Regions from separate parts of the Homo sapiens genome. Here region 2 is linked to region 1. The links are contacts of gene promoters, found by promoter capture Hi-C in blood cells and fetal thymus (Javierre and others, 2016). All regions are on one chromosome and are shown on one strand. The core of a region is centred on a gene start or on the middle of the fragment in contact, and the rest is flanking DNA. Distances in the headings are between cores, read along the strand shown.

Region 1 (7,206 bases), core at 1,411-3,910:
TCGGGAGGCCAAGGTGGGAGGATCACTTGAGGCTGGGAGTTTGAAGCCAGCCTGGGCAACGTAGCAAGACCCTATCTTTTAAAACAAATAAACAAATGAATAAACATACGTTAAAAAAGGAATACTTTCTGGAGTTGTGTGACCCTTAGATGAATGGGCCTGGGTAAGGCTTGGCTCAGGGCAGTTCAGACCTCCGAATAGGTAGACTTGGGACTGACAGCCCCCTTCCCTCCCCCTGGCCCCAGGGCAGCCCCAGCCCCCACCTGCCCCTGGCCTACCCAAAATCTGGAAGCAGTCCTCCTCCCTGGCTGTGAGACAGAGGGCCTGCCCCACCTCGGATTTCTCTGAGGGAACAGCCTGGAACTCAATCCCCCTCGAGGTGTCCCCTTGCATCTTAGCCTGGCCAGCCTGGCCTGGGGTTTTCTCTCCCACTTCCTTCTGGCTCTCTGCCAGGATGTTCTTTCCTTCTTCTGCCTTGGCTGGCCTGGGATCCGTGGGGCTGTGGGTCATGGGCACCCCTTCAAAGGTGAGCTCTGATGCCTCGCTTGGGGGCTTCTTGGCCAGCAGCTTCTCAGAACTAGAAGGTGAGAACACAGAGGTGAAGCCCTCAGCGGCCACAGCCTGTGGCATCAGGCAAGTCTCAATGCAATCTGCAGAGCTAATCCAACCCCACCCCAAATGCATGGTGTAATACAGCCAAATTCACCTGGTACAAAATTAAGGGATGTTCATGGCTGTGGTCATTATCTTGACTACCAACACACTAATACATCATTAATAACTATTAATAGGATTGTTGATATGGTTAATCATCATGTGGATACAACTAGGGAGTTATGTAGCTCTTGATTCATAAAATCTGTTGTGATATAATTGATACATAATTATCAAAGTGATATGGTAAATGTTCTTATTGTGGCTTACAATATATCATTAATGACCTCATTAGCATTCAGGTAAGTATAACTGATGGCATCACACATGTGCTATATTATGGTTATGAAAATATTATCAATGATCCTCCAATCTGGTTATTAGTCATCTTTTCATATCTTACCAATAATTATATTAAGAAGAACAGGAAAATACTGGATGTCCTAGGAAATACACAGCCTTTTGCCTGACACCTTTAGCCTTTCTGCCTGCCATCTCAACCCTGCCCTTGGCTAGACCCAAGCCCATGGAGTAAGGGGAACTTCGGACCCCAGAAGCCTAGAGAAGATATGTTCAACCTAGGCAGTCTTTGAGGGTCTCTCTTACTCCAGTCTTGTATGAATTGTGGCAGGGTTCTGGTTTCTGCAGGGGACAAGGCGGTAGAGGCAATTCACAGGACAGAGGAAACTGAATGTCAGAACTACACTCCCCAGCACTGAATGTGATGATAACCATGCCTAAGACAAGGGAATTAAGCAGGACCCCTAGGGACAGAACCACAGGACCCCTCCCCACTCCCAGGAGGGGATATTCACCTGGAGATGATGGCAGGACAGCTGGGGCTATGCAGAAAGGCAGGTGAGCCCCTCCTGGCTGCTGCTTGGCCCTCTGCTGCCTTCTTGCCCACCCTGGGCTTTCCAGGATCCTGGCTGCCTGAGGCTCCCTGCTCAGCCTTGGGCTTCTTGACGCTGGTCTCAGGTGTCGCAGTCTGCTGGGGCAGGGCTGCCGGGGGCCCAGCACTGCCCTCCGCGGGCCCCCCGCCCCTGTCACCCTCTCCTTTGGGGCCTTGGCTGCTAGTTGAGGGTTGGGCCAGGGTACCATCCCCTTTCTCTGAGGCAGGGGCTTTGGCATCTTTCTTCAGGGTGGGTGGATCCGGAGCTTTCTTTGGGTCTGGGGGGCCAGGGTCTTTCCCTGCAGCCAGGGGTCTTTCACCTGTGGGACCTTTAGGTGCCTTGTCTGCAGAGGAGGTGAGACACCCATCAGGATCCACCCTCCTTTCCTTCCCTCTCACCCAGGCTGGGCAGAGACCAGCTCTGGGCCCAGGTTCCCACCCAGGCAACAACTTGCAAATGCTTGTCCCACTGAGTCTCTGGGGCCACTTGATGGCCCCTAGAGATGAGCTGCCACGACCTTGGAGGGCCTCTGTGGGAGGCTTCCAGCCCTTTGGGTGGGCCTTGGTGGCCCCCATCATCCTTGCCCTGACTGTTTAGGTGCATCCCCAGCAGCCATCCCTGGTGGCTTCACATTTTCCTGGTCTCTCCAGGAAGGGCTTCATACAGGCCCTGGACCCAGCCCAACCCTAGCCAGAGATTCCTCTGATTTCTGGGTCCCCCGTGCACCATGCAAACAAGGCTGGGGCACAGAACTCCCACTGAGGAACCTGCCCAGTCCTGGATTCAAAACCCCCCTTCCCAAGCTCCTCCCTCCATCTCCTGCCCCAGCTTGGCACCTGTTGATGGGTTCTGAATTCCCAGCTCAACTGCTCCATTTTCTGTCGCCATGAGGTAGGGAGGCGTGTGCTGCTGCTTGTCTAACTCAAGTCTTTCTAGCTGCAGAAACAAGAGTGGAGTGTGTCAGGCTGTCCAATTTCCCCTCTCGTCTGGCTGCAGTGAGACAGGAAGCCGAGGCCTGCTAACTGAGGGGAGAGAGGTACCTGGAGCAAAGAGGGGCAACCTGGTTGCCGTCTGTCTCCCAGCGGCTGCTCAGGAGCAGTCCTGGGCAGTTGTAAGGGATTGGGCCGGGTGGGCAGAGGCGGAGGCAGGGGTGTGGGCAGTGGAGGCGGGGACGGAGGAGAGGATCTCTTACACCAGGGGCCATGCAGCTGGGACTGCCGCCACCTGTCACTCTTGGCCCCAGTTCAGAGGACACGGCATTCTTCCCATGGCCCGACTGGGGGGAGAATGATGTTGGAACAAGCGAGAAAAGGGAGGGGTATCTGGGACGCTGGGGGAGCAGCCCTTTCCCCAGGCCTTGCTCAGTATCCCTGACTTGGACAGGATCAGAGGGGGCCTGGAAGAAGGGGAGTACTCAGGCAGGCCTGAAGGGCAAGAGTATGCCCAGGCTGAGCCCTGGTCTGCCCACCTGTGTGCCACATCTCCTGGGGCTCCCCAGAACCTGGCTAGAGCCACAAAGTCCCAGGGATAATCTCCCTGACCCTAGTGCCTAGCTCTGTGCCTCGACATCTGGACCTGCTTGCGTCACCTTTGGGTAAGAAATTGTCTCGGGGGCACTTTCTCAACATGTCCATAGGCCTGGAAGCTTTTTCTTTTGAAACTGTCCTTTTCTTGGGCTCCTGGGGACACGGAGGCTGCCCTGAGTAGCCATGGGAGATGGAGAGTGCTCTGTGCCCCTCCCCCAAGCTCATCCAGTTCTCACCCATGACCCACATGGAAGAAGGGGGCTGGCAGAGAGTCTTTTCAAGGATGCTCCACTACAGGGGTGGCCCGAGGGGCACTCTAGCCTGAGGTGTTCGAGATAGGATGAGGACAGCTATGATCCAAGGAGCCTTCCATCACCCAGAGCCTTTCTCAGAGGGGGCTCTTGAGAACTGGCCAGACCTGGGTGCATTAGAAGTAGCTGTAGAGGCCAGAAGCAGTGGTTCACACCTGTAATCCCAACACTTTGGGAAGCTGAGGCAGGAGGATCACTCGAGGCCAGGAGTTGGAGACTGGCCTGGGCAACATAACAAGACCCCGTCTTTATATTTTAAAAAGTAAGATAAAATGAAGTAGCTGTAGAGTGGTTATCCAGGTTCAGGTCCTGACTGCAGCAAACCAGTCACTTCACTCCATGGCCTCGGCTCCTCTGTCAAATGGGAAGCCATTGGAAAAACGCTTGATGAGAGAAAGGAGGGAGAATGCAGCCCCTCTAAGCAGTGGGGAAATAGGAACCTGTAAAAAAAGATTGAGGAAGCTGTTAATGAACTGACAAAAAGTGACCACCAAAGTGGGGGGAATAAAAAAAGCAAGATGCAAAGTAGCATGTAGAGTGTGCTATCCATTTGTGCAAAAAAAAAAGGGAGAATAATATATGAATAATATATATTTCACTTTATGCACATAAGAATTTATTTGGTAGGATAAGCAAGGAACTGGGCCCCAAGGGTGGGAAGGAGACATCACTGTATATACTTTGACTTTTCTGTTTGAACCATGAACTATGTGAACAGGCTACTATTCAAAATGAGTGGGATGTTTTGTTTTGTGAGCAAATGTCAAGGGTTTTTGGTATAAGCTGGTAAAAACCATAGTTGGAGCTCTTTCCCCAGTCTTGACTACTTTTGCTCTGCCTGGCCCTCCTCTCCAGGCCCGGTCCTCCTCTCCTCCATTTCTCTTCTTTAAGGTCCAGTTAACAGTCTGCCTCTTCCAGGAAGCAAAAGTAACAGCTGATGCCTATACGGTACTGACCACGTGCCTGGCCTCGCTCTGCATGCTCTCATGTTGATCCACCCAAATGGTCTTCAGAAGAACCCAGTGCGGTAGGTACTAGAGAGATGGGGAAACCAAGGCATGGAGAGGTTATGTAATTTACTCAAAGTCACAGCTTGGAAGGGGCTGAACTGAGCTCTGAACCCAGGTCCCCTGCAGAAAGGGAGCTTCCACTTGCTGAGCACCTGTCATTCGTTTTAGCCATCTTGCCTTTAAGCATCATCTTGATGATAACTCTGTGGGGAGCGCTCATCTCATTTTCTGCATGAGGACGAGGAGAGTTAAAGGAATCAGTAGCTTGCCCAAAGTCACTCAGCAAGGAAGGGAGTTGAGCTTGGAATGTCGTTCTTCAAACTCCAAAGCCCTCTTCCCTTCCTAAAATGTCCCAGCCTGTGCCTTGCCCCCTTCTCCCTGCTGAGTAACCCCTTTGTGGATCTTGCAGCATTCAAAAGGTTGAAATGTTTCCTGTCCTAATGCGGATCATTAGGACCTCCTGGCCCTCTATCTGGCCCAGAGCATGTTTTAGTTTAATTTGGAATGTTGGGTCCCCTGCTTCTGGCCTCCCCACAGTGCCCCAGCTGATCCCACCATTGGTTGACACTGTCTGGGAGCCCCCTGAAGGCCAGGGGCTAAACACATCCCCAGCACAGAGTGGACTTGCCCATCAGTGTCTGATGAGTAAATAACTGATTAACCAGAAGGCTCCAGACTGGAGTTTGTTACCTCCCTATGCTGGACCTTGCTGGCATCTCCTTGTTATTATTGTGGTTATCAATACCAGTCATTTATTGAGTGCCCACCAACGGCCAGGCCAGACTATGCCAAAGATCCAGCTCCCTGGATCCTCAGAAGGGACTGTAGGGGCCAATGTTACACCATTTTAAAGGTGTGGAAACTGATGCTCACAGAGGGAAGTGGCTTGTCCCCACAGTCACTCAGCTAGTGAATGGCTTCAAACTACCCACATTCAAATCCAGAGCCACCTCCCAATGAGACCAAAATCCAGCCTGGGACAACTTCAGGGGCATTAGTGCTACTTTTGTTATAATTATTATTCCCAAATAATTACTCTTATTGAACTCTTTCTAAAATGGACCAGGCCCTGGGGTAAGCAGCTTCATGAGTATCCTTCCTTCGAGTCTTACAACTCCCTACCATGCAGTGATTAGGAGATCTGTCAATGAAGCGCTGCGACCAGTAACTGTGAGCTTGGAACAATGTCTTCACCTGTTTCCTCATCCGTAAGGAGAGCATCTGCCTCCCAGGAGGTAGATAAAGCATTACAACAGTGAGTGTGAGCATAGCGAGTGCTGTATAAATGTCAGCTCTTTAATCCCCATTTCACAGATGTGACAGGAAAACTGAGTCACAGGGCAAAGTCATAGAGTTGGGATTGGACCCATCTAACCCAAGGCTCTGCTCATAACTGCTCTGCCCCATTGCCTCCCTCTCACAGCATGGCTGCGAGCATTTAGCCAGCACACATGTAAAGAGTGCCCAATGGCACAGTACCTACAGCACTGTGGGGGCCTGATAATGTCGTGGACACCCCAGGTAGAGGGTTCATCTGTTCCCGCCAGCTCCCCTGCAGTGCCTCCCACTGGGATGAGAGTCTGGCCTGGTTCCGAATCTACGGGACTGCCTGCTCCAGCCAGCTGCTCCCTGGGAGTCCCCAAGCTTCTCAGCACTCCCTTGGAGGCACAGGGGTGGGGCACGGGGAAACTTCCTCCACCCACCTAGGGGCTGCCAGAGCCCCTGCCCACCCTCAAGAAGGGGCTTCCCCGCCCTGCACCAGCTGTGCAGACACCCTCTTTGCCTCTACAGGGGCAGGACAGGAAGTGGGGCAATGCCAAGACCAATTAAACCCGCCAGGGGAATTAAGGTCAGCAGGATGCAATTATGCCTGTTGGATTTAACAAGGCCAGAGGGAAGGTTTCTCCAGCCAGAGTTCACGGCTCCTTAGGCCTCTTGCCCTGTGTAGCTCTGCCTTCCAGGAGCCTAGGCTTCCAGGCTCACCTAGCTCTGGAAGAATGTGTTGGGGGTGAAGGGGTTAACTTCACCCAGGCACTGCTTCCTTGGCTCTGGAGAGGAAATCAGTTCAGCCAAGAGGCTTTAAAAGGACCTGTTCGGAGAAGTCATGCCCAGTCTGACCCTCTCCCTGCCCAGCTGTGATGGAAAATCCAAAGAGTTGAGCAACAACCTTTCTGACTCCAAAGAGAGCAGCCAACTCCCCTCACAGCCTTCCCTCTGCTCCTGTTTGAGAGCCACTCAAGGCTGCATTAGCACGTTGTTTTCTCTCGCCCTCTCCCACCTTGGACCCCTGAGCCCAGGGCCTTGGCAGGACCTCTCAGGCCTCTGGAAAAGCCCTAGGTAAGGTTGCTGTCCTTACAGCAGACCCTGTCCTTCCAGCCAAGCTAGTAAGCAGAGGTCTGTGGGCGTTCTGTGTGCAAATTGGACATAGGTTTCTCCGAAAACGCAATTGACACACTGTTCCATCCCACAGTTATAGAATTTTATTGCTAAGATTAATTACTGGGGGCTCTACTGTGACAAGGACTAAACTGGTCACTTTCAGGACACAGAGATGAAATTGGGGGAGAGCTATAGAATCACTGCATATTACATTTTAGGTGAAAAAAGACTATAAAAATCAACCATGCCTGTAATCCTAGCATGTTAAGAGGCCGAGGCTGGAGGATCACTTGAGCCCAGGAGTTCACGACCAGCCTGCGCAACATGGTGAGACCCCATCTCTGCAAAAAAATTTAAAAATTCGCCAGGCGTGGCAGTGCACACCTGTGGTCCCAAGCTACTCAGGAGGCTGAGGTAGAAGGATTGCTTGACA
Region 2 (7,206 bases), core at 1,858-4,357, 970 kb before region 1:
GCCATCGCATCCCCTGTGACTTGCACGCATCCCCTGTGACTTGCACGTTTAAGCCCAGATGGCCTGAAGTAACTGAAGAATCACAAAAGAAGTGAATATGCCCTGCCCCACCTTAACTGATGACATTCCACCATAAAAGAAGTATAAATGGCCGGTCCTTGCCTTAAGTGATGACATTACCTTGTGAAATCCCTTTTCCTGGCTCCTCGTGGCTCAAAAAACTCCCCCACTGAGCACCTTGAGACCCCCACTCCTGCCCGCCAGAGAACAAACCCCCTTTGACTGTAATTTTCCTTTACCTACCCAAATCTTAGAAAATGGCCCCACCCCTATCTCCCTTCGCTGACTCTCTTTTGGACTCAGCCCACCTGCACTCAGGTGAAATAAACAGCTTTATTGCTCACACAAAGCCTGTTTGGTGGTCTCTTCACACGGGCGTACATGAAATGTATAACGTACGCAGTTGCAGTCCTTACATAAATGTCATGTTGGGAAAAACCACAGTATTCACGTGGTAAATACTGGCATTTGACTTATGTCTGGGAGAGGATTAAGGTAAAGAAAGGTCCGTGGTGCATATGGAAGATACTTAGAATTCAAACATGTCAATTATTACAATTACGAAACTTCTAACAACTGTTGTCGCTCTGTTACCAACAGTAGCAGGTAACTGGTTTTTCCCCGTGTTCAGGGTCCTCAGTCACCCTGGGCAGGAGCCCCTCTCGGCCATACCTGATACTCTGAACTGTCTCCATCTCCACTGTCTGCCTCCACCTGCGGGGACTCCATGCCCCCCTGCTGGCTGTCCTGGGCTAGGCGGGCGTAGGGGGTACTGCTGCTCTGGGGCGTCCCATGTGTGTCCTCTGTGTCGTCTGTGAGGTCGATGGTAAGGTAAGAGCTGGGAGGGGACGGCCATGGCGTTCCTGCCGATGCTGTTGCCCGCCGTCTCAGGGACTGTGGACAGAAGGACACATAGTTTGGGCCAGAGCAAAGGATGTCGGTGACCAGAGACCAACGGCACCCCCATATGGCTCCTAGGCAAAAAGAAAGAGGAAAGACTGAAGTTAAAGAGAACAGAGACCGCTGAAGAAACTTTTCCAGGAACACGTATCCCTTAAGGGGGGAGAAAGTCATTGTAACTGTCCCAGAGACAGAAAGATGACAAAGGCACAAATGATGGGTAATGACGAGGGACTCTCAGAGAGTGAAATGTTGCCATACCCGCTAGGGTTGCCTCAAGACAGGTGAAGAAGACATGAGGGAGAAGACAGTTCTGGATGTCAGTGTTTTCTACCTTGTTTCCAAGTTAGAGCAAGAACCAAGTCAACAGGGAAAGCTTCCATTCCCAACAGAGTGTCATCTGAGATCAGACCAGGAGAGAAGCCAACAGGCTTACGGGAAGCTTACCCAGGAGAGAAAAGAAAAAGCAAGAACCTGAAAAGCAGTGTGAAAAAAGGACACAGATTATCTACCAGCCACAACCAGTAGTGCAGTGAGTGAGGCATATCTCCCAGTTAGAGACTGCGGGCAGGGGTCTGGGCATCTGGGGAACCAACCCTGGTAGCCGGGAACTCCACGGGGGACTCGTCCACATGGTTGCGGCCCTGCCGGCCTCGGGTGGAACGTGGGGAAGGCCTGTGCCTCTCCCGGCTGGAGACACTGTTGTTATTTCGAGTTCGGACCTAGAAGCAAGAGAGGACACTCACTGGGCCTTAGGTGACTGGAGGCCTGGGGTCTGGCGGGGCCAGAAGGATTAGGCCTTCAGGTGGCCAAGGAGACCTGGTAGCCAGCTTCAGGACAACTGGAAGTGAACAGGTGATGAGGTGGGACTCTGGACTGAGTCCAGCCAGAATTCCCCAGTTCTTGGAATAGAGGTGGTAGGGTGGCCAGCTAGGATGCCCGACAATTCCCAGCAGGTCCTGCTCTGCCTGTCACAGCAGACAGACATGGCCAGCTGAAATGGCACCTGCCAATTGGGATTGAAAAATAAAAATCTGGCCAAGCGCAGTGGCTCGCTCATGCCTGTGATCCCAGCACTTTGGGAGGCCAAGGCGGGCAGATCACTTGCAATCAGAAATTCAGGATCATCCTGGATAAAATGGTGAAACCCCATCTCTACTAAAAATGCAAAAATTAGCCAGGCATGGTGGTGGGTGCCTGTAGTCACAGCTACTCAGGAGGCTGAGGCAGGAGAATCACTTGGACCAGGGAGGCAGAGGTTGCAGTGTGCTGAGATCACGTCACTGCACTCCAGCCTGGGCAACACAGTGAGACTGCATCTCAAAAAAAAAGAAAAAAAAAGAAAGAAAGAAAGAAAGAAAAATTCGTGTTCACTCTAAAATAAACTTTTATGTCAAAGAAGCATAAGGCCAATTACTGGGTTCAGGAAGGCACCAGATCATCAAGATGGAATAGAATTCCTTAGGCTCCATGTTCATTGTCAAAAATGGCATGAATTTGGTTGTTGCAGAACCTGTGTCCAAATTATGCATAGAAGAGTTGATGTTTAACCTCAGTTAAGTTGCTGGAATCTTCTCTCATCTCCACAAAGGGGATGATACAGACCATATCCTGGGAAGGGAAGACTGTAACCCACACCTGGGATAGTAACTGTCAGTCTGGTCTCTAAAGGGCTGGGTGACCATAAGCAATAACTGCCTTCCCATTGCCATACCTCAAAACTCTGAGGCACAAAATCCACCCACAGAAATGGTGGACTCCCTAGGTCATTAGCAGCTGAGCCATCCACCCTGCAAACTCTATCACCCCTAGGCACCTCCAAGAGTGTTACAAGAAAGAACTTAAAAACCACCTGAAAGAAATGGCACATAGAGAAAACCTTCCAGCCGGGCGCAGTGGCTCACACCTGAAATCCCAGCACTTTAGGAGGCCAAGGTGGGTGGATCACCTGAGGTCAAGAGTTCGAGACCAGCCTGGCCAACATGGTAAAACTTCATCTCTACTGAAAATACAAAAACTGGCCGGGTGTGGTGGTAGGTGCGTGTAGTCCCAGCTACTTGGGAGGCTGTGGCAGGAGAATCACTTGGACCAAGGAGGCAGAGGTTGTTGCAGTGAGCTAAGATCACGCCATTGCACGCCAGCCTGGGCAACACAGTGAGACTCCGTCTCAGAAAAAAAAAAAGAAAAAAGAAAACCCTCCAACAATAGTCCAAGAGCCTTGCTTATATTTTCTAGTTTCAAAACATTTTTTCATCACTTTCTCTTAAAAGCTCCCCTAAGGAGCTATGCTATGTATGTAGCATGCTATGTATGCTATGTAGAGTGTTGGCCACAAGTGCTTTGGCTCGAGGTGTGGCTACTTACAGCTGGGCTTTCTGAACGAGTCCTGGTTTCCCGGAAGAGCTTTGGCATGACTGGGGTGTCAGAGCCATCCCCATCTTCCCCGTCGCCATCGCCTGTCAAGTCCTTTATAAGGAAACATGATGAACATGATGAAGACCCCAGGGTATCAGCAAGTCAAAGAAACAAGGCACCTGCAATATGAAAGACTGATCGCCTGTGCCTGGCAGGGAGACCGGGTCACTCATCACAACACACTGCATATGGGTGCAGACACAGACCAACCACGACAGATGCCCCGGAAGCAATGGCATGAAACCTGCACCATGTCATCAGGGCTTCCTCGTGCAGGCCTCACACCTCACACCAAAACCCAGCATAAGCCAAACACAAAAGCTGAAGCAGCGAGCAGCTAGGTCTGGCTGGAGTGTTAAGCACTTGCCTTCACTCACCAACTGTGTGGCTTTGAGTCCATTTCCCTCATTTTAAAATTGGAATAACAGTACTTCCCTCATAGCACAACAGGGTTACATCAAGAATCAAATAATATGCAGGGTGTGGTGGCTCATACCTGTAATCCCAACACTTTGGGAGTCTGGGGCAGACTGAGGTCACCTGAGGTCACCAGACCAGCCTGGCCAAGATGGTGAAACCCCATCTCTACTAAGAATACAAAAATTAGGCCAGGCGTGTAATCCCAACACTTTGGGAGGCCGACGCGGGTGGATCACCTGAGGTCAGGAGTTCAAGACCAGCCTGGCCAATATGGCGAAACCCTGTCTCTACTAAAAATACAAAAATTAGCAGGGCATGGTGGCATGTGCCTGTAATTCCAGCTACTCATACTCAGGAGGCTGAGGCAGGAGTACCGCTTAAACCTGGGAGGTGGAGGTTACAGCGAGCCGAGATCGCGCCACCGCACTCTAGCTTGGGGAACAAGAGTAAGACTCCATCTCAAAAAAAAAAAAAAATACAAATACAAATACAAAAGTTAGCTGGGCATGGTGGTGCACGCCTGTAAGCCCAGCTACTTGGGAGGCTGAGGCAGGAAAATTACTTGAACCTGGGAGGCGGAGGTTGCAGTGAGCCGAGATCGTGCCATTGCACTCCAGCCTGGGCGACAGACTGGAGACTCTGTCTCAAAACAAAACAAACAAACAAAAAGAAACGTGTGGGCAAGAGATTTCATTACTGTTTCTGGTAACTAGCTACCAGAAACAAAACAGCAGTGCTGAGCCTCTGATCCTGCAGCTGCCCTAATTCCTCCCAGGGCTTAGGTTCCCCACCTTCTGAGTCCCCTAAGTAGGTTGGCCACCACCAAGAGAATGGAAGCTGAGGGTGAGTTTTCATTGCCCAGGACTTTTATGACTGATACTGGCTCTGAGCAAAACCAACCCAATTGACAAACTCTACTAAGAATAATTAGGAAACAGACGGTGTCAGTAAAGGAAGGAACACAAAACAAGATGGGAAAGATCCAACCTTGGAAAAGTAAATGAAGTAGAAAGCTTGATAATGTAGCAAGTCTTAGAAGATATAATTGTTTGAAATTCATTAAAATAAGCTTAGACAAGTTTCTTCCAGCTTGTAAAAAAAATTCCTTGAGCCCACCTAATCCTAACATCAAAACCATAGATATATTTAAAGAAATAAAATGGGCCAGGTATGGTGGCTCACACTTGTAATCCCAGCACTTTGGGAGGCCGGGACAGGTGGCTCACTTGAGGCCAGGAGTTCGAGACCAGCCTGGCCAACATGGTGAAACCCCATCTCTACTAAAAATACAAAAAAATTGGCTGGGTATGGTGGTCCATTGCCTGTAGTCCCAGCTACTCGGGAGCCTGAGGCAGGGGAATCGCTTGGGCCTGGGAGGCAGTAAGTTGCAGTGAGCAGAGATCATGCCATTGCACTCCAGCCTGGGCAACAGACTTCATCTCAAAAATAAATGAATAAAAAAAAATACCCATTTCATTCATGAATACATGAATAAAATCAACTTCAAAATGCACCATAACCAAGTTGGACTCATTCCAGGAATAAAAAGACAGTTTGCTATACAGTAGTCTCCCCTTATCCAGGGGGGATACATGCAAGACCCCCCATGGCTGCCTGACACCTTGGAAGATGGAACCCTATATGTGCTCTGTTTTTGTCTATATCTACATACCTATGATAAAGTTTAATTTATAAATTAGGCACAGATTAACAACTAATAATAAAATAGAGCAATTACAATATACTGTTAATAAAAGCCATATGAATGTGGTTTCTCTCTCAAAATATCTTCTTGTACTCTATTCAGGGTTAATCTGTCCTTCCATGGTTTATGACCTAGTGTCTTCCTCCTTTGCACTTTTATGAAGGTAGGTTCTATTAGACATCATCTTCTGGAGGAGTCTGGTTTCACTGCAGTCTTAGTTTTGGATTGTTTCCTTTCTCAATCAACTTCAACTCTTCTGAAAATGTAGCAGCAGGTTTTTCATTGGCAAATGCAGCCTCTCCAGTCATTTTTATAGTTTTCAGTAGAAACCTATTCTTGAATCTATGTAACCATCCCTTACTTGAAGTAAATGGTTTGGTGTCAGGGGATCCCTTGCTATAGGCTCAATGCTCCCTGGCACAAAGCACTGCTGTCAATCAGAACATATTTCTGTTCATGTCTTCCACCTACAAATTTAATGCCTTTCCCATCTTAACTACACACTTATCACACAACATGGCCATAACTTTTGCAGTTTGAGGTGCAACAGTAAAACTAGCATGCATTTATTTTTCCTTCTTCATGATTTCACGGCTGGAAGATTTGTTCTTACCACAGATCTAACAACTTCAGCATATGATTTCTTCTTTCCTTTTTGAGAACTTTCACTTTTTCACTTAAAGGAAACACTTCATGGCTTCTCTTTGGCATAACTGAATTGCCAGCGTCATCACTCCTGCACTTTGGAGCCGTTATTAAGTAAAACAAGCACTACTTGAACACAACCACTGTGATACTGCAACTGATCTGATCACGGAGACGGCTACAAGTGACTAACAGGCAGGTAGCACCTAAGCATAGAGATGTTGGACAAAGACAGGACTGATCCTGGGCAGGACGGAGCAGGACAGTGCAAGATTCCATCATGCTACCAGAATGGCACTCAATTTAAAATGTATAAATTGTTTATTTCTGGGATTTACCATTTAATATTTTCCATTTAATACTTTCAGACGGCAGTTGACTGCAAGCAACTGAAATCGTGGAAAGCAAAATGACAGATAAGAGGGGACTACCATATTAGAGATTTAGCAATGTAACTGATCGTCCAGATTGAAAAAATAATGCCAAATATATGCAGAAAGCATCTAGCTCGGCAACCCTCCATACATTTGCAGATGCCAGTTTTTATGGGCCTCAGGCAGCCCACGTGATGAAAGCCAAAGACAAAGTCCCTGAGCCCTGAAAAAGGGAGAGCAGAGACCATACCTGTGTGTAGCTTAGCAGACTGGACACCTCCCTCTTGGAGAGTCGCGAGCTTGATCTTCGGCCTGTAGAGGAAACAGCCAGGAGTCTGTTTTGTGGGGGCAGGCACCAGTCTGGGGAACGGCCTTGCTAATAGGGGCTTTTCTCCGTGGCGTGGCCTGGGATCTCCCCTACACTATTGTCAGCCACAGGGATTTGCTCTCAGTCCGTCAGTATCGTTCATCTTCTCCACTGATTTTATTCCTAAGACAACAGAGCCCTGGGCCAGGCACGTGACAGGACCCAAACCAACACTGAAGTTACCAAGGGGAGCCCTCCGATTCCTTCCAGCAGGGTGCTGCCCATCCAGGGACCACTAACTACATTTCCAGGAACAATTCACTGCCTGCTGTGTCAGCCGCTTCTCAAGTGCTCCCATGTAGAGTGTGGCTATTGTGGGG

The links. The method cuts DNA at HindIII sites, captures the fragments that hold promoters and counts their contacts. A CHiCAGO score of 5 or more calls a contact.
Region 2: a fragment that was not itself captured here is called in contact with the fragment with the promoter of MYLK2 in region 1 in 1 of 17 cell types (neutrophils); the score reaches 5.9 in neutrophils.

The regions. Positions count from the first base shown.
Region 1 is chr20:31,814,810-31,822,015 of GRCh38, reverse strand. It overlaps MYLK2 (myosin light chain kinase 2), which reads right to left and starts at 2,660. Exons shown (of 13, transcript NM_033118.4): 1 at 2,588-2,660; 2 at 2,384-2,483; 3 at 1,470-1,890; 4 at 279-577. The coding sequence starts at 2,435. RefSeq lists enhancers at 1,635-2,176, 5,530-6,332. The HindIII fragment of the contact is 6,141 bases long and covers 1-3,194 here.
Region 2 is chr20:32,780,978-32,788,183 of GRCh38, reverse strand. It overlaps DNMT3B (DNA methyltransferase 3 beta), which reads right to left. Exons shown (of 23, transcript NM_006892.4): 3 at 6,770-6,831; 4 at 3,325-3,426; 5 at 1,557-1,682; 6 at 733-954. Among named protein-coding and RNA genes, the nearest start is that of DNMT3B, 22 kb to the right of the region's middle. RefSeq lists enhancers at 1-539, 540-1,211, 6,117-7,117, 7,118-7,206. The HindIII fragment of the contact is 3,406 bases long and covers 1,405-4,810 here.